6 separate regions of the Homo sapiens genome follow, and all the other regions are linked to region 6. The links are contacts of gene promoters, found by promoter capture Hi-C in human tissues and cell types (Jung and others, 2019). All regions are on one chromosome and are shown on one strand. Each heading gives the region's core, a stretch centred on a gene start or on the middle of the fragment in contact. The rest is flanking DNA. Distances are from core to core; before and after follow the strand shown.

Region 1 (3,358 bases), core at 192-2,691, 350 kb after region 6:
ATGAATGGGGCTGCTGGACACGGAAGATGGCTGGACAGAGAACAGGACACAGGTGGGAGAGAGTTCAAACCATTTACTAAGCAGATTCTTAGCCTTCCCACTCCCGCCCTCTCTCAAGCTCCGGTGCCCACAAGCCTTGCCTGGGGAGATGCTGGAGTGAGACCGGGAGGTCCAGGCCAAGTCACTGGTCCCTGGGCTCGGGCCCTGCCGATGGAGTAAAGACCAGCTGTACACATCTTCCGGTGGGGGCCCTGGGCTCTGCATCCGCCCCTCCGAAGTCAGCAGGAGCCTCTGGGAAGTAAGGCAGCAGCCAAGACCCCCAGCGTCTTGGAGGGGAAGCGAAATCCTCAGTCTGACACCCGCTCTGCCTATGGAAACAGCGCCGCGCACAGAAAAGGAAACTTCATTCCGTCTGTTAAGGGCAGGGCCGGGCTAGTGGCAGGAGAAGGTCAGCTGCGGGCGCAGGCAGGAGCGGATCCAGGAGCCGCGTCGGGGCGCAGAGCCGGACGTTCCGAGGAGCCTGCGCGCCGCGCTACCCGGCGGAAGCCGCGGTCCATGCGGGGCTCCCCAGGCTTATCCAACGCCTCGCAGGCGTGGCTGGCAGGAGGGGCCCGGCCGTGCCCAGCGCCCTCAGACGTAGTTCTTCTTGTCGTAGTCGCCGGTGGCCGTGGGCCGCCGCGGCGCTGAGTACTTCACGGGGAAGCTGAGGTCGGGACGGCCGGTGCAGACCCAGGCGCCGCAGCACAAGAGGCAGCCGCCTACCATGAGCAGCGCGGTGGCCGCCCAGCCGATGTACAGCGCTGCGCCCAGCTCGTACTTCTGCGACACGGGCACAGACGGGTCGTAAAACTCGCGGACGACAATGTTGGCGAACCAGCAGAGTGGCACGAGCGCCAGCAGCCCGCAAAACAGGTAGAGCACGCCTCCCGTGAGGGCCACACGCGCCTTGGCCGGGCCCGGGGCCACGCAGGTGGTGCACTGCGCGCCCGCCAGGGTCACGAAGAGCGCAACGAACGCCAGCAGCACGGCGCTCACGGTGAGCGCCCGCGCCGCCTGCACCTCGGTGCTCAGAGCCAGCACCGAGTCGTACACTTTGCACTGCATGTGCCCGGTGCTCTGCACCACGCACGACATCCACAGCCCCTTCCAGGTGGTCTGCGCCGTCACGATGTTGTGGTCCAGGAAGGCGGTCACCTGCCACATGGGCAGCCCGCACGCCAGGATCAGACCCCCCCAGCCCACCAGGCACAGCACCAGGCCCAGGATCTCCAACGCTGCGGACCCCATGGCTAGAGGCGAGACGCGCACCCGAAGGCCCGCAGAACCCCCAAGGCCGTGCTGCGCGGCGCCCTGGGCGGGCCCTGGTGCCTTTGCGCCCGCGCTCCCGGCTCTTGGCCCCAGTCCGTTTGCCCCGCGGGTCTGTCGCACCTCCTGGGTCTGCCAGCTCCTGCCGGGGGGTACCCTCTTTGAAGGTTCGGGGGCGGATTCTGTCCCCCGGGCCCGGCCCCCCGGCCCGAAGCAGCCAATCCGTGCGCGGGTCATCGTGCCGCAGCCAATCACAGAGCCTCTGGCAGCTGAAGTTAGGGAAACAACGGCTCTTGAGGGGTAGCTGAGGGCGCGGGACCGCTCCCCGCCCGGCAGCCGCCCCCAGCCCCACCCGCCGTTGTCCTAGTCGCGGCCGAGCGCATTCTGGGCTGGCCTAGGGCGCGCTTCTTGGGCCGCCTCCCTGCGCGTCCCGGCCCCGTCACTTCAGAAGGCGCTCGACCCCCAGTCTGCACCACCCAGTCCACTCCCACATCCCCGACTGAGCCGGGTGGTCTCTTCCACTCGAGCCAGCTCCACTTCCCTGACCAAGGTTTGCAGAAGCCCCCCACCCCGTCACCGCCGTAGAGGCCCTCGTAGGGGGGCTCTCCAGAAAGCCCGCCCCGGGGTCCAAGCCCCACCCAGGCCCTTTCTCGCACTCTCACTCTCCAGCCCCGCTCTGAGTCCCAGCACTGTCTCTCTCATCCCATGGCAAACAGAGAGGCCAGGCAGGCGTGTGGAGGTCAGGCCCAGGGCCCCAGCCTCACCCCCCATGCCACTCACTGCCTCTCTGGAGCCTGAGTCTCTGGCAAAAAGCGGTGGCACAGGGGCTTTCCCCCTGCCTGGCGACCCCCACTCTCCCAAGCCGCAGGGGCTTCCCAGACCTCTCAATCTTCACAGGGGCTGCTCCTCTTCCTGCGGTACTGCCCGCACCCCATCCTTGGGGGCCCAGTTCAGGTGACACCACTTCAGGAAGTTCCCAGTGACCCAGCACACTGGGTGTAGCACCCAGGGGCAGTGGTGGCCCCAGGCCTAGCAGCCTGCTCTGGCCTTCAGACAGGAGAGACAAAGGGACACGGAGGGGCTGTGCCCTGCCCTCCCACCAGTGGCGATGGTGTCCCTGGCACCCCAGCCCCCAGGCCACCCTCCGGAAGCCAACTTGGAGTTTCCTGGCCAGGAGGAAGAGCCCCCATCCTTGCTGGAGGAGGGAGGCGCGGGATTTCCGGGCATTCTTCTGCACAATGGCCCAGCCATTTCTCGAAAGGTCCACTGGTGTGGACACTCCGGGCCCCCTGAGGCTCAGGTGGGGGCACGCGGCTCCAAAACCCACAGCCCCATGGGGGCACCAGCCCCTTTCTAGTAGTTCTTTCCCCAGTCTCTCTCGGCCCCTTTGTTTCCAGTAAAGTTTGAACTCCAGGCCCTGGACTGAGGCCACTGGGTGCCCAGTTCTTTTATCTGGTCTGTGCTCAGTTCCATTGGACAGGGCCCTCCATAGAAAAAGTATGGCACTGAGGCTGGTCACAGATGTGGGAGGTTTGATGACTTTCTCCCTCCTGGGGCCCGGTTCCCTTCTCCCCCTTCAGATGGCTCTGAGATGGTAAATGAGATAAGGCCAGCGTCTGGCTCACCTAGTGTGGGGAGGTTCTGAAGGCAAGTGTGCCCAGCCCTGAGGCTGGAAGGAAATCATACCCTCTTTGCTCAGCCCCACGTGGCCTCTCCCCACCAGGTATGGCTCTGAGGACCACTGCCTTCTCCCAGCTATCACTTTAGTCACTGCCTTCCTCCTGCTGCAGACCCATGGGCCATGCCCCTTCCTCTACAGACCCTCCTGGACATCTCCTCCTCTGTGTACTCCAGGGGTACAGCTGACCCACCCACCCTCTCACTCTTACTACCCCCTAACCCAAGCCCAGGGAACTTCCCCAGATCCCCCTACTCCCAGCCCTTCCATGCCACCATCTTCCTGGGATGACTGCTGCGGCCTCCTCAGGTCATCAGGGACCTGCCCTTGCCCAGCTAGGCCACCCACCCCACCAGGCCCCTCTCCTGGGCCTCA
Region 2 (3,435 bases), core at 689-3,188, 470 kb after region 6:
GAATGGAAAATGATATACCATGCAAACAGTACCCAAAAAGGAGCTGGAGTGGCTATACTAATATTAGACAAAATAGGTTTTAGCACAAAAAATGTTACTAGAAACAAAGTGGGAAGTTTTGTAATAATAAAGGGTATATTCATCAAGAAGATATAACAATGATAAACATATATGCACTTAGCAACAAAGTCCCAGGATACATGAAGCAAAAAATGACAGATTAAAGAGAGAAATAAAGAATTCAACAATAATAGTCATAGAGTTCAAGAGGTCATTCTCAGAAGTTCAACAAGAAAATAGAAGAGTTGGCCAGGTGTGGTGGCTCACACCTGTAATCCCAGCACTTTGGGAGGCTGAGGCGGGTGGATCACGAGGTCAGGAGATTGAGACCATCCTGGCTAACACGGTGAAGCCCCATCTCTACTAAAAATACGAAAGAAAATCAGCCAGGCGTGGTGGCAGGCGCCTGTAGTCCCAGCTACTCAGGAGGCTGAGGCAGGAGAATGGCGTGAACCCAGGAGGCGGAGCTTGCAGTGAGCTGAGACTGTGCCACTGCACTTCAGCCTGGGCAACAGAGTGAGACTCCATCTCAAAAAAAAACCAACAAAAAACAAACAACAACAACAACAACAAAAGAAAATAGAAGAGTTGAACAATATTATAAGCCAACTATAACTAACAGACATCTGTAGAACACTCCACCCACTAGCAGAATATACATTCTTTTCAATTGCACATGAAACATCTTCAGGATAGACCATATATTAGGCCATAAAATGAGTCTCAATAAATTTAAAAGGACTGAAATCATACAAATTGTCTTCTCAAATCACAATGGAATAAAATTAGAAATCAATAGCGGAAGGAAATTTGGGAAATTCACAAATATGTGGAAATTCAACAACACAGTAACCAATGGGTAAAACAAGAAATCGTAAGGGAAATTAGGAAATACTTTGAGATTAAAGAAGAATAAGACACAGCCTACCAAAACTTATGGGATGCACTAAAATAGTGCTTAGAGAGAAATTTAAAGCTATAAGCACCTATATTAGTAAACAAGGAAAATTCAATTTAATAATATAAACTTTCACCTTCAGAAACTAGAAAAGGAAGAGCAAACCAAAAATAATGCAAGTGGAAGGAAGTAAAAAATACAGATTACAGTGGAAATAAATTTTAAAAGAGAAAAGAAAATAATAATCAATAAAACCAAAAGTTGACTTTTCAAAAAAGATCAACAAAGTTGACAGCCTTTTGCTATACTGACTAAGAAAAAAAGTCAGACTCAAATTACTAAAATTAGGAATGAAAAAGAAAACATCACCACCAACATTACAGAAAAATGATTATAAGGGAATACTATGAACAAATGTATGCTGTGGCAGGTGGCATAATGTTCCCCTAAGATGTCTATGTCCTAATCCCTGGAACCTATGAAGATGTTACCTTAAATGGCAGATGGGATTTTGAAGATATGATTAAGTTAAGGATCTTGATATGGGAGTCTTAACTTGGATTATCTGGATGAGCTCAAGATAACCACAAGGATTCTTACAGACGAAAGAGGGAAGCAAGAGGGTTAGAGTCAAAGATTTGAAGATGCTATGCTGCTGGCTTTCAAGATAGAGAAAAGGGTCACAAGCCAAGGAATATAGGTGACTTTTAGAAGCCAGAAAAGGCAAAGGGACAGAGTCTATCCTGGAGCCTCCAAAAGGAATGCAGCCTTGCTAACACCTTGAATTTAGCTCCTTGAAATCCATTTTGGATATCTGACCTCAAGAACTACATGATATTAAATTTGTTTGGTTCTAAGCCACTAAGTGTGTGGAAATTTATCAGTGCAATAGAAAACTAATACACATGCCAACAAGTTAGATAAACTAAATAAAACAGACAAATTTCTAGAAAGTTAGAAACTTCTGAAACTGACTCAAGAAGAAATAGAAGATCTGAATAGAACTACAAGTAAAGAGATTGAATTAGTAAAAAACAAAACAAAACAAACAAAACTTCCCATAAGCAAAGCCTAGGGTGAGATGGTGTCACTAGTGAATTCTACCAAATGCTTAAACAGTATTTAACACCAATACTTTACAGACTCTTCCAAACAGTAAAAAAGAAGAGAACATTTCCCAACTCATTCCATGAATACCCACAAAACAATGCCAGACAAAAGCACACACAAAAGAAAGCTATAAGCCAATATCTTTTAAGAATTTAAATACAAAAATCTTCAACAAAATACTAGCAAACAAAACCCAGCAACATATACAAAGGATTCTGTACTATGAGTCAGTAGCATTTATGTCAGGAGTGCAAAGTTGGTCCAACAATCAATCAATCAAGTCAATCACATTAATAAAAAGATGGGCAAAAAAACACATGAGCATATTAATAAATGCAGAAAGCATCTAACAAAAATCCATCAATCTTTCATGATAAACACTCAACAAACTAGGACTGTAAGGGAATTTCTCAACCTGATAAAAGGCATCCATAAAAACCCCCACAGCTAACATCATAATGGTGGAAGACTGAAAGCTTTCCCCCTATGATCAAGAACAAGACAAAGATGTTCACTCTTACTACCTCTATTCGGCATTGTAATAGAGGTTCTAAACAGGGCAATTAGATAAGAAAAACCACCCAGATTATAAAGAAGCAAAACTATTTCTATTTGAAAATGATGTGATTTTGTATAAAGAAAATGCTAAGAAATCCAAAACAAAAGAAAACAATTACTAATAAACTAGTTCAGCAAGGTTGCAGGATACAAGATCAATATACAGAAATCCATTGTATTTCTATACAGTAGCAATAAGCAATGTAAAAATAAAAGTAAGAAGATAATTCGATTATAATAGCATGAAAAAAATAAAATACTTGGGATAAATTTAACCCAAAAAGTGAGAGACTTGTACAAAACATTGTTGAAAGAAATTAAGGAAGACCCAAGTAAATGGGAAGACATCCTGTGTTTGTGGATTAGAAGATGTACAGTTGGCCAGGCATGGTGGCTCCTGACTGCAATCCCAGCATTCTGGGAGGCCAAGGTGGGCGGATCACTTCAGGTGATCCTGAAGTGGTCAGGTCAGGAGTTCAAGACCTGCCTGACCAACGTGGCAAAACCCCATCTCGACTAAAAATACAAAAATTAGCCAGGCATGTTGGTGGGCGCCTGTAGTCCCAGCTGCATGGCAGACTAAGGCAGAAAATCGCTTGAAATCAAGAGGCAGAGGTTGCAGTGAGCTGAAATTGTACCACTGCACTCCAGCCTAGGCAACAGAGTGAGACCGTGTCTCAAAAAAAAGAAGAAGAAGAACATGTACAGTAGACCTTTGAATGATGGTGGCAATTCGGGGCACAGGTGAAAATCCGCATATAATTTTTGACTCCCCAGAAACTTAACTATGACTAGCCTACTGTTTCCTG
Region 3 (3,149 bases), core at 273-2,772, 430 kb after region 6:
CCACATGCCATCAACTGTCCCACACCTGTGGCTGCCAGGGCCTGCCTCCGAGGGACGCCCCCCTCCGCCCGCCGTGTGTTCATTAAGAGGGCCGGGGTCTGTGGTGGCCCCACAGGCAGCGGGCCTCTGTCCTGTGCTCAGGTGGTGCTCTTTGAAGGGTGGCAGGGCCGGGGGCTCCTCTTGTGCTGCCAGAGCTGGTCCCAGAGACCCACCTGCCCAGGGCCAGCCCGTGGGATGGCAGCCCCGTGCGTGACAGTGGCCTTCGCATAGTACCATCTGCTCCCAGTGGGGCGGTTCTAGACTTGCTCTGGGAAGCAGCCTTTCCAGATAACAGGAGACACCCCAGCCAGTCGGTGGGGAAGCAGGCCTGGGGTCGGCCACGGGGACTCTGGAGGGTCTCTTCAGGCCACGGCTGGTGTTTCCTGAGGAAGTGGGGCCGACACAGAAGGGCCAGGGCCGCGTGGTTGAGAAGTAAGGATGAGGATGATGGGGGCTGCTAAGATCCCTGGCCCCATCACTGTGCAGCTTTTCTACTCACTTGTGGTAACAAACGCCCAACATGACATTTATCATCATAACCATTTTTAAGCACCCAGTTCGATAACCTAAGTATATCCTAAGTATATCCTTAGTATAACCTAAGTATATCCGCGTTGTTGTGCATCCAGTCTCCAAAATCCTTTTCATCCTGCAAAACTGAAACACTGTACCCACTAAACCACAACTCTCCTTTCTCCCTTCTTTTCAGCCCCTCCCCAGCTTACCATTCTGCTTTCTGTCTGTGAATTTGGCTATTCTAGAGAACTCATGTCAGTGGACTCACTCCGCATTTGTCTTTCTGTGACTGACTTATTTTACTTTGCATAATATCCGCAAGGTCCATCCACGTGGCGGTGTGTGTCCGAGTTCCCTGCCTCTCCAGGCTGAGTGATGCTGCCTTCTGCGGATGTGTCATCTTTTCTTTATCCATTCATCTCCTCATGGGCACTCAGGTTCCCTCTATCTCTTCAGCATGGGTGGGCATTTGCCCCAATCCTGCTTTCGCTTCTTTTGGATCTACACCTGGAAATGGTGTGCTGGATCAGAGGCTCTTCTTACTTTTAACTTTTGAGGAGCAGCCACACTGATTTCCATAGCAGTTGCACCATCTCACATTCCCACCATCGGCACACGAGGGTCCCACCGTCTGCACATGAGGGTCCCACCGTCTTCATTCACATCCTCACCAGCATGTGTGTGTGTGTGTTTTTTTAATAGCAGTCATCCTAGTGGGTGTGATCCGTTTTGTTTTAAGTAAGGCATAATTTTCATACAACAAAATGCACAGATCTTGTTTCCCATAACAGGAGTTTTGGCTGATGAACTTTCATGAAATCTACATCCCACCCAGGGATAGGACATTTCCGGTGCTCTGGGAAGCTCCCTCTCACCTTTCCCTGTCATCCCTCTCCACCCGGCACCGGGTTGCTGTCACACCGGAAGAGCAGTGCCTGCCCCTGCCCTTGGTGCCGATGCACCCACAGTAAAGACAGAAAGGTTTGCGTGGGCCCAAGCCTGCCTCCCCATTAGGCAGCCCTGCTCAGGGCTGCTCCTCGCACCCGGGGAGGAGGTGCCTGTGCCTCCAGGAGCAGGGAGAGGGCTGGGTTTGCAGGTGCCCTGCATCCAGCTCCAGCCTCTCCCCAGCCCGCTGTGTTTGCTTTTGGAGGGCTGAGCACAGGATGTGCCCGTCCTCTGCCTGATGACAGTGGAGTGATGTCAGGCCAGGTGCTTCCCGGAGGGAGGCAGGGCGTGCAGCCTGCTGCCTGGCAGGGGAGGGGGTGGGCAAGGTTCCCAAAGAGAGAGCTGAGCTACGGGCCGACTATGCATCAGCGATGTTTACAACAGCTTCCCGCCCTCACCAGTTTCGAAGTTTGCGTTTCCATTCTGAGAGCCTCATTTTCAGCCCCACTTGCTGCTAAAGGGCAGTTTATCTTCAGAATCAACATTCGGATAGAATCGCGCACCCTCTAACCTGGGAGCAGAATGTGCTCGGCTTTGACAACTATACAGTTTTTATGAGCAGCAGGTTCCTGAAAAGCTTGTGTTCCCAAGGCCAGGCTGGTGCCACGGGAAGGCCTGTCCCAGGCTGAGCTCCGTCTCTCCTCCCGTGGATTTACTCAGTAACGTTGCAGGAGTCTGAGCCCCGACAGTGTCGTGGGTTCATTCAACCTTCAGCAAATCATTATTCCTGTCAGACGCTTGGGATACAGAGTTGAGCAGGCTGGGAACCAGGGGGCAGACTCAGGGGATGACAGCATCACACATAAATACTCATATCCACCTAAGTGTGCATTCAGGCTGGGTGGTCAGGGGGTCCCTTAGAGGAAGCCACACCAGAAGGGTGGATGGGATTTAGCCAATGAGAAGAGCTGAGGTGGTGAGTCTCAGGGGAGCTCGGATGCAGCCTCTGTGGGGAGGTGTGTGAAGGGCCATGCCCTAAACAGCGTCCAGGGCAGTGGGGTGGCCAGCCCCTGACTGAGGGGGTTAATGGGGGTGGTGATAAGCCCCAGAACCAGAATTGCTTTTCAGGCCTCAGTGGCTCAGATTCCAGAGGCTTTGGTGTCTTTGGCAGAAAGAGACTGAAGTTTCTATTTCAGTTCTCTCAGTGAAAACCAGCATTTCTCACCCAGGCTTTCATGCTTTGGCTGAGTTCTAGGCTCCTTTTCTCCCAAGACATGGAGCAGATTCCAGGCTGGTGGCCGTCTCTGTGTGGTGCCTGAGCTGCGTGGCATCGATGGCTGTGAGCTTTGTCCCCACTGGCTCACGAGCTCACAGGGCCACACTGCCTTCTCCACACCGTACCCCACAGCATCGCGGTGCCAGTGCCTCCTGGCCTCCAGAGGTGGCTATTGGCTGCCTCATGCCTTCCTCAGAGATCTGGTTTTTAAAGTAAAGTGAGGGTCAGTAAATGGAGGGAGACAGAAGCAAAGAAAAATGGGTTGGACACAGAAAACAAACTGGCTGTCAGAGCTCTGATCTGAATCTCAGGCATCCTTTCCTTTCTTTTAAAAATATGTGATTGTGGTCAAACATACAGAACATAAAAGGTCTACCCATTTTTAAGTGCGTAGTTCAGTGGTGTTAAATCCATTCTCACTGTGCTGCAGCCA
Region 4 (3,341 bases), core at 257-2,756, 370 kb after region 6:
GTGCACGCCACCATGCCTTGGTAATTTTTTTGTATTTTTTGTAGAGAAAGTTTTGCCATGTTGCCTGGGCTGGTCTCAAACTACTGGGCTCAAGCATCCACCTGCCTCTGCTTCCCTGAATGCTGGGATTACAGGCGTGAGACACCATGCCTGGCCCTTCATTCCATTTTTTTTTTTTTTTTTTGAGACAGAGTTTTGCTCTTACACCCAGGCTGAAGTGAAGTGGCGCGATCTCTGCTCACTGCAACCTCCGCCCCCCAGGTTCAAGTGATTCTCCTGCCTCAGCCTCCTGAGTAGCTGGGATTACAGGCGCCTGCCACCACGCCCTGCTAATTTTTGTATTTTTAGTAGAGATGGGGTTTCGCCATGTTGGCCAGGCTGGTCTTGAACTTCTGACCTCAGGTGATCCACCCGCCTCAACCTCTCAAAGTACAGGCATGAGCCACCGCGCCTGGCCCCTTCATTCCTTTTTAAGGCTGAGTAAAATTCCCCTATATAGTTATATTACATTTGTTTATCCATTCATCAACCAAAAGTCCACTTGGGGCCAGGGATGGTAGCTTGCGCCTGTAATCTCAACACTTTGAGAGGCCAAGGTGGGAGGACCACTTGAGCCCAGGAATTCAAGACCAGCCTGGGCAACATAGCAAGACCCCTTCTCTACAAAAAAAATTGGCCAGGCATGATGATGCATGCCTGTAGTCCCAGCCACTTGGGAGGCTGAAGTGGGAGGATCGCTTGAGCCTGGGAAGTTGAGGCTGCAGTTAGCAGTGATCGCACCACTGCACGTGAGTCTGGGTGACAGTGAGACTGCCTCAAAAAATGTTTTTAAAAATACAGTCGTATTGGCTGTTCCAAATGATGGTGCCATGAACATGGGTGTACAAGCATGTGCTGCTCTTATGATACAATGCTGATGTGCTCCCCATCAAAAGCTGGGGTCTATATTCCCTCTCCTTGCACCTGGGAAGGTTGTGACAGAAATGATGCTATGTGACTTCCAGGCTAGATCATAAGAGGTGATACAACTTGCTCCTCATCCTCTTTAGTGGCTCACTCTTGGAGCCCAGTCGCCATGTTGTGAGCAACTCAGACCAGACTTAGAGGCCACATGTAGATGTTCCAGCTGGCAGCCAGCATCAACTACCAGATAGAGGGAAAGAGTTTTCCAAGCAACCCCAGCCTCTGTGACTATCTGAGCAAGAACCACCCAGGCGAGCCCAGTCAACCCCAGAGCCATGAGAGATGACAGAAATGACTGTTGCTGTTTCAGGCCACTGAGGTTTGGGGTGTTTGGAGTGCAGCCACTACATGCACCCTACAAAGAAGTCTGCCCTGGGATGGGACCCCCCACATCCCACAGCCACCTCCAAACACAGGACCAGAGACCCCAGGATCAGCAGGCCAAAATGACCATAAAGGAAGCCCAAGCTTGCCACCCTGTCAACGAGGAAGTCCCAGATGGGAGATAGTAATGCGAGAACAAAGGAAAACGTAAGCAACCTTGATGATGTGAAATAATAGTAAAGCTGATGGAAACGGGGAGGTAGAGCAGGAAGATTTCTTCATCTTGCACAGTGGGGTCCGTCATAAAATATCTACAGCAATAGAGGTCTGGGGCAGGTCCAGGCTCCACTAGGTGGCTGTAAGGTGGCTTGTTGGACGGACCCGAGTCACTGGTGTCACTAGTCCCTGAAATCACAGCATCTCCACTGCTCTGACAATGACAGGTTTAGAGGTTAGGCCCCAGCCTGCTGGGTATGCATTTCCTTTAGTGCTGGAGATGGACTCAGAATGCGTATGTGACCCTATGTGGGCCAGCAATTGGCCAGTGCAAGATTGCTGGGGATTCTGGGACCGGGGTCCTTATTTTCAAGATACAGCCATGTGAAAAAATGGCTCCTACCAACACACGAAGAGGGAAACTCCGCACTCCTATTGCTTGGCAGCCATCCTTCCATCACTAAGGGAACCAGCCTTAGGATAAAGCTGAGGGGTGGAGCAATGGAAGGTACTCAGGTTTCTATCACAGTTTTTGTTTGTTTGTTTTTTGAGACAGAGTTTTGCTCTTGTAGCCCAGGCTGGAGTGCAATGGTACGATCTCAGCTCACTGCAACCTCTGCATCTTGGGTTCGAGCGATTCTCCTGCCTCAGTCTCCCAAGTAGCTGGGATTACAAGCGCCCACCACCACGCCCAGCTAATTTTTTTGTATTTTTAGTAGAGATGGGGTTTCACCATGTTGGCCAGGCTGGTCTCAAACTCCTGACCTCAGGTGATCTGCCCGCCTCAGGCTCCCAAAGTTCTGTGATTACAGGTGTGAGCTACTGCGCCTGGCCCCAGCTAATTTTTATATTTTTAGTAGAGATGGGGTTTCACCATGTTGGCCAGGCTGGTCTTGAACTCCTGACCTCAGGTGATCTGCCTACCTCAGCCTTCCAAAGTGCTGGAATTACAGGCATGAGCCACTGCGTCCAGCCTCTATGATGGTTCTGTAAAGCCTGTAAGCTGAACAGCCCTGGAGCCTGCCTTACCTCTGAACATCCACTGGCATGAGCCAATAAATTGCTATATTAAGACCGTTCTAGTTGGATTTTTTTCCTTTTTTTTTTTTTTAGACAGGGTGTCACTCTGTCACCCAGGCTGCAGTGCAGTGGTGTAATCATAGCTCACTGCAGTCTCAAACTCCTGGGCTCAAGCGATCCTCCTCCTTCAGCCTCCTGAGTAGTTTGGACTACAAGAACGTGCCACCACACCTGGTGAATTTTTAAATTTTTCTTTTGTAGAGACGAGGTCGTGCTATGGTCACCCCGGCTAGTTTAGAACTCCTGGTCTCAAGTGATCCTCCCACATCGGCCTCCCAAAGTGCTGGGATTATAGGCATGAGCCACCATGCCCAGCTGTTTCTTTCCTTTTTAAAACATTTTTTATTGAGATACAATTCACATAACATAAAATTAATCACTTTAAAGTTTATACTTCAGTGGCTTTAGTATATTCACTATGCTGTACATGCATCGCCACGGTGTAATTCCAGAACATTTCCATTTCCCCAAGAGAAACCACAAATCTGTTGGCAGTTATTCTCCACTTCTCCCCACCCCATGCCCTAGGTATCCACCAATCTACTTTCTGTCTTCGTGGATTTGCCTGTTCTGGACATTTCATAGAACTGGAATCACACAGCATGTGGGCTTTTGTGTCTGGCATCTTTCTCTCCGTAGATTTTCCTATTCTGGACATTTCATAGAACCGGAATCACACAGCATGTGGGCTTTTGTGTCTGGCGTCTTTCTCTCCATGGATTTGCCTGTTCTGGACATTTCATAGAACCGGAATCACA
Region 5 (3,047 bases), core at 309-2,808, 410 kb after region 6:
AGCCACCGCACCCAGTTGTGTTTTTTTGTGTTTTGTTTTTGTTTTTGTTTTTGTTTTGAGACAGAGTCTCCCTCTATTGCCCAGGCTGGAGTGCAGTGGTGCTGAAACAGGAAAAGTTCCCGTGTCCCCCTCGCAGGGCAGGCGATGGGGGTGTGGTTCGCTTCTTCAGTGCCCCACTGCTCAAACCGCTAGGGGAGCATACAGATGGGCAGGCTGTGGGGCTCCGGCCCCAGGGCAATGTCTAGGGGTTAATGTTTACAGCCAGGACCCAGTGGGCATGTGCTACTGTTTGCTCTTTTAGTTTTGCTGTCTATAGGTGGCTTTTGTTAACCAGTTCAATTAGACCCTCTAGGCCTGGCATGGTGGCTCATGCCTGTAATCCCAGCACTTTGGGAGGCCGAGGTGGGCAGATCACTTGAGGTCAGAAGTTCAAGACCAGCCTGGCCCAACATGGCGAAACCCCGTCTCTACTTAAAAATACAAAAATTATCCGGGTGTGGTGGCTCACACCTGTAATCCCACCTATTCGGGAGGCTGAGGCATGAGAATCACTTGAACCCCAGAGGCAGAGGTTGCAGTGAGCAGAGATTGCACCACTGCACTCCAGCCTAGGCGACACAGGGAGACACCATCTCAACAAAAAACAAAAAAAAAAAACAAAAACAAAAACAGAAAAAAAGGACCCTGTACCTTGTTGCGAGGACAGAGGACTTCCTGTATCCGGGTTTTTGACTTGGTGTACCGGAAGAATTGGATCACACGTGGGCTTGGAGAATGAGTGCAAGGTTTTGTTGAGTGGAAGTAGCTCTCAGTAGATGGGGGAGCCAGAAGGGAGATGGAGTGGGAAGGTGGCTTTCCCCTGGAGTCGGGTCGCTCAGCAGCCCAGGCTCTCCTCGACTGCCCTGGCCAAACTCCACGTCGTTCCACCAGTCGAGAGCCTGCCAGTGTCTGCCAGTGTGCTCTTCTGCCAGAGTGCTCCTTTCAACATCCTCTCAAAGTCCAGCGGCTTGCGTCTCCTTCTGCCAGTGTGTTCCTCATGATGTCCAGCCACTTCTGTGTCTGCCTGCTAGGGTCTTGGGGGTTTTCATAGGCACATCATGGGGATGCAGCAGGCCAGGGCATTCTGGGTAAATGCAATGTTTGGGCAGGAGTGCCTATCCTCACCTAGGTACATAGTGGTGGAGCTCTAGCCAGGGACCATGCCCTCCTCTACCCAGCACTTCTCTTCCCCACTCCTGTATCATTTAAAGGGACCACGCTGTTCCCTTCCCAGCACTTCCCTTCCATATCAGCGCTATCATTAGCTCCCTGCAGCCACAAACTCCTGGGCTCAAGTGATCCTCCTGCCTCTGCCTCCCAAGTAGCCAGGACTAAAGGCATGTGTCACCATGCCTGGCTAATTTTTTTAAAAAGTTTTGTAGAGATAGGGTCTTGCTATGTTGCCCAGGCTGAATTAACTGGACTATTGTTCAGGAAACCAAAGTACCAGGCAGTACAATGCTAGATTTGAAGTCTATGAAAATAGTACCCTCTGAATCATTAAGGCGCATCTTCCTATGAGAGGTGGCTTGAGCCAGACCCTGGTGGCCAGGGGCAGTGTCTGTCTGGACCTTCCCACCAACAGGCTGTGCAGCCCTGGCCAGCCCCTATTGCTCCTGTACTCTTTCCTTACCTGCTAAACACACCCAAATCACAGCAGAAATCCAATTCACTTGAAGACAAGGGCTAAGCCTTTCTCATAACCAAAGGCCGTGCGCTTCCCAGAGCAAAAGTCTGTATTTGTCCCCTCATGTTCTGAGCTGCCAGGCAGTAATTCTAGCCTACAGTTACTCAGTGTGACCTAAAATAACAATTACCCAAGAAATGAAATTCTGATAATTTCAAGTAGAATAAAATGGAACATATTTTAGTGAATGGATTGTAAGGAAAAGCCTAAAGATTTGGAACTGCCCATACGTGGCACTTTAAAAATCTTGGGCCCTTTATTTCAGGTAATCAGTTCATAGAGTAAAAACCCATGTGACTGCCAAGACTGGTTATTAGTTCAAGCCCAAGAACACATCTTCAAAGGAAGAGAATGAATTTATCCACAGTTCTGATTGTTTTTTACGTTCTAAAATCACACTTATTATTAAAATATAATTCACTTAATGGTGATGGTAATTACATCAGCCAATTCACTTAAAATGAATGCGCAAAGATGAATGCACAAAAATGCACCATTTTTCAATGAATTGGCTGATGTACTTACCGTCACCATCAAAACGCAGGGTGTTCCCCTTTCCCCGGGAAGCTTCCTTGTGCTGCAGTCTCTGTCAAATCCCTTATTCACAGACCTGGCCAAACACTGGTCACTAGAGATTAGATTTAGCTTTCAGGGTTTCACAGAAGTGGAATCATTCACTCTATGCTGCTTCTTGTCTGGTACCTTTCGCTCAGCACAATGTTTTTCAGCTTTATCTGTGTTGTTACATGTGCCAAACCTTTATTCCTTTGTCGTTGTTGTTTTGAAACAGTCTTGCTTCGTTGCCCAGGCTGGAGTGCATCGGTGCCATTGTAGCTCACTGCAGCCCTGAACTCCTGGGCTCAAATTATCCTCCCGCCTCAGCCTCCCAAGTAGCTGGGATGACAGGTGTGTGCCACTGTGCCCTACTAATTTTTTATTTTTATTTTATTTTATTTTATTTTGAGACAGAGTCTCGCTCTGTCGCCCAGGCTGAGTGCAGTGGCGCAATCTTGGCTCATTGCAAGCTCCGCCTTCTGGGTCTACGCCATTCTCCTGCCTCAGCCTCCCGAGTAGCTGGGACTACAGGCGCCCGCCACCACACCAGGCTAATTTTTTGTATTTTTAGTAGAGACGGGGTTTCACCATGTTAGCCAGGATGGTCTCGATCTCCTGACCTCATGATCCACCCGCCTCGGCCTCCCAAAGTGCTGGGATTACAGGTGTGAGTCACCACGCCCAGCCCATTTTAATTTTTTTTAGAGATGGGGTCTTAACTATGTTGCCCAGGCTGGTGTTGAACTCCCGGCCTCAAGTGATCCTC
Region 6 (3,404 bases), core at 20-2,519:
TGAAGGTGTCATTTTGTTTTCTGCTTTATAAAAGTATTTTTTAAAGACTTTAAGGCTGCCTTTAGCATAGACTCAGCCTCCACGGGTGGCCCTTCGTGGCAGGCGTCCTGCCCCAGGGCCCCGCGGTCACCCCGCCGGCCTTCCCTGGCGTCCAGGAGACCCTCCCCAGCTTGCCGGTTGCCCCGGGAGCACCGGGCCAGCGGGGCCGCCCGTCTCCGTACTCCCTGCGTGTCCGGGGTCCTCGCCAGGACCTTCCCCACCTTGATGGTCTCCATGGGGCACACGACCACCACGGCCTCGGCCACGCCAGCGCCCAGGCCGCACAGCAGCCCACGCGTGCTGTCCAGCCGTCCCTGGGCATCCCGCATGTGGTTGCTGAGGAACTCGAACATTCCAAACCTGGAGGCGGGAGGCGGGTGAGAGGGGCTGCCGCGGCCGAGCCCCCCTCCCGCAGCAGCCACCGGCCGGGCCTCACCTGACGGCCGCCTTGGGGATGGAACCGTAGAGCAGGGAGCTAAGGCCGCGGTACAGGCCCAGGACGCCATGGCTGCGAACCGTCTGCCGCACGCAGTCCCCTGGGGGAGGGGGCGGTCAGGACCCCACGGCCCTCGGTGCCGCCGCCCTGGGTACCCGCCCCCCGCGGCGCCGCGGCCTCCCCCTCCTCACCGATGCCCCGGTACCGCGGCGGGTGCGAGCGCTCGTCCAGCTGCAGCTGCGTCTTCACGTACTCGGTGGGGAAGGTGATGCAGATCTCGATGCCACCCGCCAGGCCGCCTGCAGGGACCGGGAACCCGCTCCTGAGACTCCCGCCCGGCCGCTGGCGCTCGGGCCCCTCCCCCGTCCCGGACTTCGGTCGGCGCGGCCGCCGCGCCAGTGCCGCGGGGAACATAGGCTGGGGCCCCACGCCCCCATGCCCTCACCCCGTTGTCCCGGCGAGGCGCAGGGGGTGACAGACGGGAGGCGGGCGAGTCCCAGCGCGCCGGGTGGGGACCAGGACCGCGCCTCCACGACTCCCCAGCCCACGGCCCAACCCGGAAGTGGGGCGGGGCCTCAGCGTCCCGGGCCCACCCAGAAGCGCGGCGGGAGAGGGGTCCGCGTCCCGGAGGGGCCCACCTGCCAGGATCGCCTTCCCCGGGTGCGTCAGCTTGGCCTTCCCGGACGCGGGCGCGGCGGCCGCCAGAGCGCGCGGGGCGCGGGGCGCGGGCATGGCGGGCGGGAGGCGGGGCGCCCTGTGGCGGCTTCGGGTCCGAGACTCCAGAACTCCGCGCTCGGTCCGCGGTGGCGGCGGCGGCCGGTTATGGTCCCAGGGGCGGGGCGGCCGCGTCAGCTCCAGGTCCCGCCCCGCGTGGTCCGAGCCAGGCCCCGCCCCCAGCCCGCCCCGTGCGGGCCGGGAAACTGAGGCCTGGGCGGGGCGCGCCGAGGCAGGCGTAGGGGCGGGGCCAAAGCGCAGCCAATGGCCGAGGCCGAGTCCCTGGGCGACCGCGAGCGGCGGGACGGGGGCGGGGCTGCGGGAGGCGGAGCCGTGGCCCAGCTCCGAGCAGTGGGTCAAGGTGCACTGTGTGCCGCGCCGCGGGATAGCGGGCCTCGGGTCTGCGCGACTGTCGAGAGCGGCGGGATCCCCAGGGATCCCGGAGGCCAGGGGCACACCCTCCCCGAAAACACGTGGGGCTAGCCCAGTCCCAGAGGAACTCTAACGTTTCAAACCTGGAGGCGGGAGGCGGGAGGCCGGTGAGAAGGGGCTACGCCGCCGGGCCCCCCTCCCGCAGCAGCCACGGGCCGGGCCTCACCTGCCGGTTCCCACCCACACCTTTCCCGGTTGTAGTTTCTGCGCTCAGCGAACAAGGTCAGGAAAGACCACAAATGCAAGCGGCTGTATTCTCCTAGGCAGCTTGTCTGGGCAACGGAGGTCCCACACCCCAAAGAGGACCCAGCAAATCTTTAATGGACTGCGGGGCCTAGGAAACTGGCCCGTCCCTCCTACCCATACCAGCACCAAGCAGAGCACCTTTGCCTGGATAAACCGACTTTAATATTTATGATTGCCAAGAGGCTGAGAGTCCTTTTATGAGGTCCGGTACCTCCAAACAAGACGTGTTCATGTAGTCTTCAAACTGGCCTGGAGGGGGCAGCTCCAGCCAGTCGGAGGCGCCCAGGAGGAAGGCCTGGCTCCAGCAGGAGGGCCCACAGTCCAGTCTCTGTTGTCGGCTAAAGCTGGTCTTGCGCCGTCAGCCTCTACCCTGGCCTCCCCAGGCTCTGGGATGGCTCAGAGGTTGCCGTCATTGGGTTTCAGCAAAAATAAATATTGTCCAGGTGTCCCTGCCTCCCATTGCGTCCCCTGTGCTGCTGGAGTGACATGCTCCTTGGAGAAGTTAGTAACTCTGCAGGTAGGGTGGGTGGTGACAACGCCCACTACACGCGGAAGTTGTACATTGGAGGCTGGCGAAGTTGGGAGCAGAGGCATATCCATAGGGGAAGCTGGCAGGGGCTGGGCCCACGGCAGGGCCTGCAGAGGGGGAAGCCCACAATGAGCAGAGCTCTTCCTGCCCATGGGGGTCCTCTCCTGGCTGCCCCTGAGTAGCCCGGGGCCCAGGGAGCAGGGTCTATAGGACCAGCCCTTACCACCCAGACGCTGAGGCCCCAAGAGAGCAGGCATCCAGAGGCAAGGAGCGTGGGGTCAGCCAGAGAACCTGGCCTGGCTAGAGGATAAGCTAGTCTCCAAATGGGACACTTACTTAGTGCAATCAGCTGGGTCTCATTCATGCCCATCAAAATCTAAAAAAACCAGAATGACATTAATGGTGGAAGGACACACTCAGCCGGACGCTGGAGACCCGCCGGCGTGCTGCACACTCACACCACACCCTCAGGCCTGTGTTTGCCCCACAGTGTCCAAGCACCCCACAGCCTCTCCAGTCTGCTCGACAGCCAGGCTGCCCTGGGCAGGTTCTCAGGTGCAAAGCCCCTCCCAGCACACACCAGCAGCAGCCTTGCTGTCCAGGGGCCAGGCCCAGCAGGACACAGCAGTAGTTCACAGCTAGGCAGGCACCCCTATCAGAAGGCAGGCATCCTTACAGCAGGGAGGACAGCGGCCGTGCCAACATTCCTGGGCGTACACTTCTCCACACCCAGTAGCCACTGGGATCCTTCCAGCCCCCACCCATCTATTCCCATCCCCATCCAAAGCCCAGCCAGGTAAGGGCAGTGGGACTTTGACTCCCTCCCTGCTCCCTCCCCAGGGGGTTGGGGGCTACAGGTGCCACCTACCAAACACGAGAGGGGCAGGCTCTGTCACATGCTCCTCTTGCTTGCGCAGACTCTCCAAGGCATCCAGTTTGTCCACCTGCAAGGAGGCAAAAGCACGTGAGCACCCGCTTGACAGAGTGCAGTCCGGCCTCTAGGTGAAA

Evidence for each region. The method cuts DNA at HindIII sites, captures the fragments that hold promoters and counts their contacts. A contact is called where the count stands out against the background at its distance.
Region 1: a contact is called between the fragment with the promoter of CLDN5 here and the fragment with the promoter of SLC25A1 in region 6, in 6 of the 25 tissues and cell types used here (IMR-90 fibroblasts, adrenal gland, lymphoblastoid cells and 3 more).
Region 2: a contact is called between a fragment that was not itself captured here and the fragment with the promoter of SLC25A1 in region 6, in 4 of the 25 tissues and cell types used here (dorsolateral prefrontal cortex, lymphoblastoid cells, mesendoderm cells and 1 more).
Region 3: a contact is called between a fragment that was not itself captured here and the fragment with the promoter of SLC25A1 in region 6, in 3 of the 25 tissues and cell types used here (IMR-90 fibroblasts, dorsolateral prefrontal cortex and mesendoderm cells).
Region 4: a contact is called between a fragment that was not itself captured here and the fragment with the promoter of SLC25A1 in region 6, in 1 of the 25 tissues and cell types used here (spleen).
Region 5: a contact is called between a fragment that was not itself captured here and the fragment with the promoter of SLC25A1 in region 6, in 2 of the 25 tissues and cell types used here (dorsolateral prefrontal cortex and lymphoblastoid cells).

The regions. Positions count from the first base shown.
Region 1 is chr22:19,522,969-19,526,326 of GRCh38, forward strand. CLDN5 (claudin 5) reads right to left here and starts at 1,442. Exons shown (of 1, transcript NM_001363066.2): 1 at 59-1,442. The coding sequence starts at 1,287. The coding sequence ends at 631. RefSeq lists an enhancer at 1-57. The HindIII fragment of the contact is 10,668 bases long and covers 1,212-3,358 here.
Region 2 is chr22:19,649,398-19,652,832 of GRCh38, forward strand. No RefSeq gene overlaps it. Among named protein-coding and RNA genes, the nearest start is that of SEPTIN5, 63 kb to the right of the region's middle. The HindIII fragment of the contact is 5,730 bases long and covers 1-3,435 here.
Region 3 is chr22:19,605,845-19,608,993 of GRCh38, forward strand. No RefSeq gene overlaps it. Among named protein-coding and RNA genes, the nearest start is that of LINC00895, 41 kb to the left of the region's middle. RefSeq lists enhancers at 1-81, 82-649, 1,132-1,705. The HindIII fragment of the contact is 6,740 bases long and covers 1-3,149 here.
Region 4 is chr22:19,547,942-19,551,282 of GRCh38, forward strand. No RefSeq gene overlaps it. Among named protein-coding and RNA genes, the nearest start is that of LINC00895, 17 kb to the right of the region's middle. The HindIII fragment of the contact is 6,562 bases long and covers 1-3,341 here.
Region 5 is chr22:19,586,098-19,589,144 of GRCh38, forward strand. No RefSeq gene overlaps it. Among named protein-coding and RNA genes, the nearest start is that of LINC00895, 21 kb to the left of the region's middle. The HindIII fragment of the contact is 3,211 bases long and covers 1-3,047 here.
Region 6 is chr22:19,177,467-19,180,870 of GRCh38, forward strand. It overlaps SLC25A1 (solute carrier family 25 member 1), which reads right to left and starts at 1,270. Exons shown (of 9, transcript NM_005984.5): 1 at 1,114-1,270; 2 at 667-774; 3 at 476-575; 4 at 261-399. The coding sequence starts at 1,207. CLTCL1 (clathrin heavy chain like 1) reads right to left here. Exons shown (of 33, transcript NM_007098.4): 31 at 3,265-3,340; 32 at 2,733-2,772; 33 at 2,007-2,503. The coding sequence ends at 2,753. RefSeq lists silencers at 487-1,566, 1,767-1,866 and an enhancer at 568-1,315. The HindIII fragment of the contact is 9,906 bases long and covers 1-3,404 here.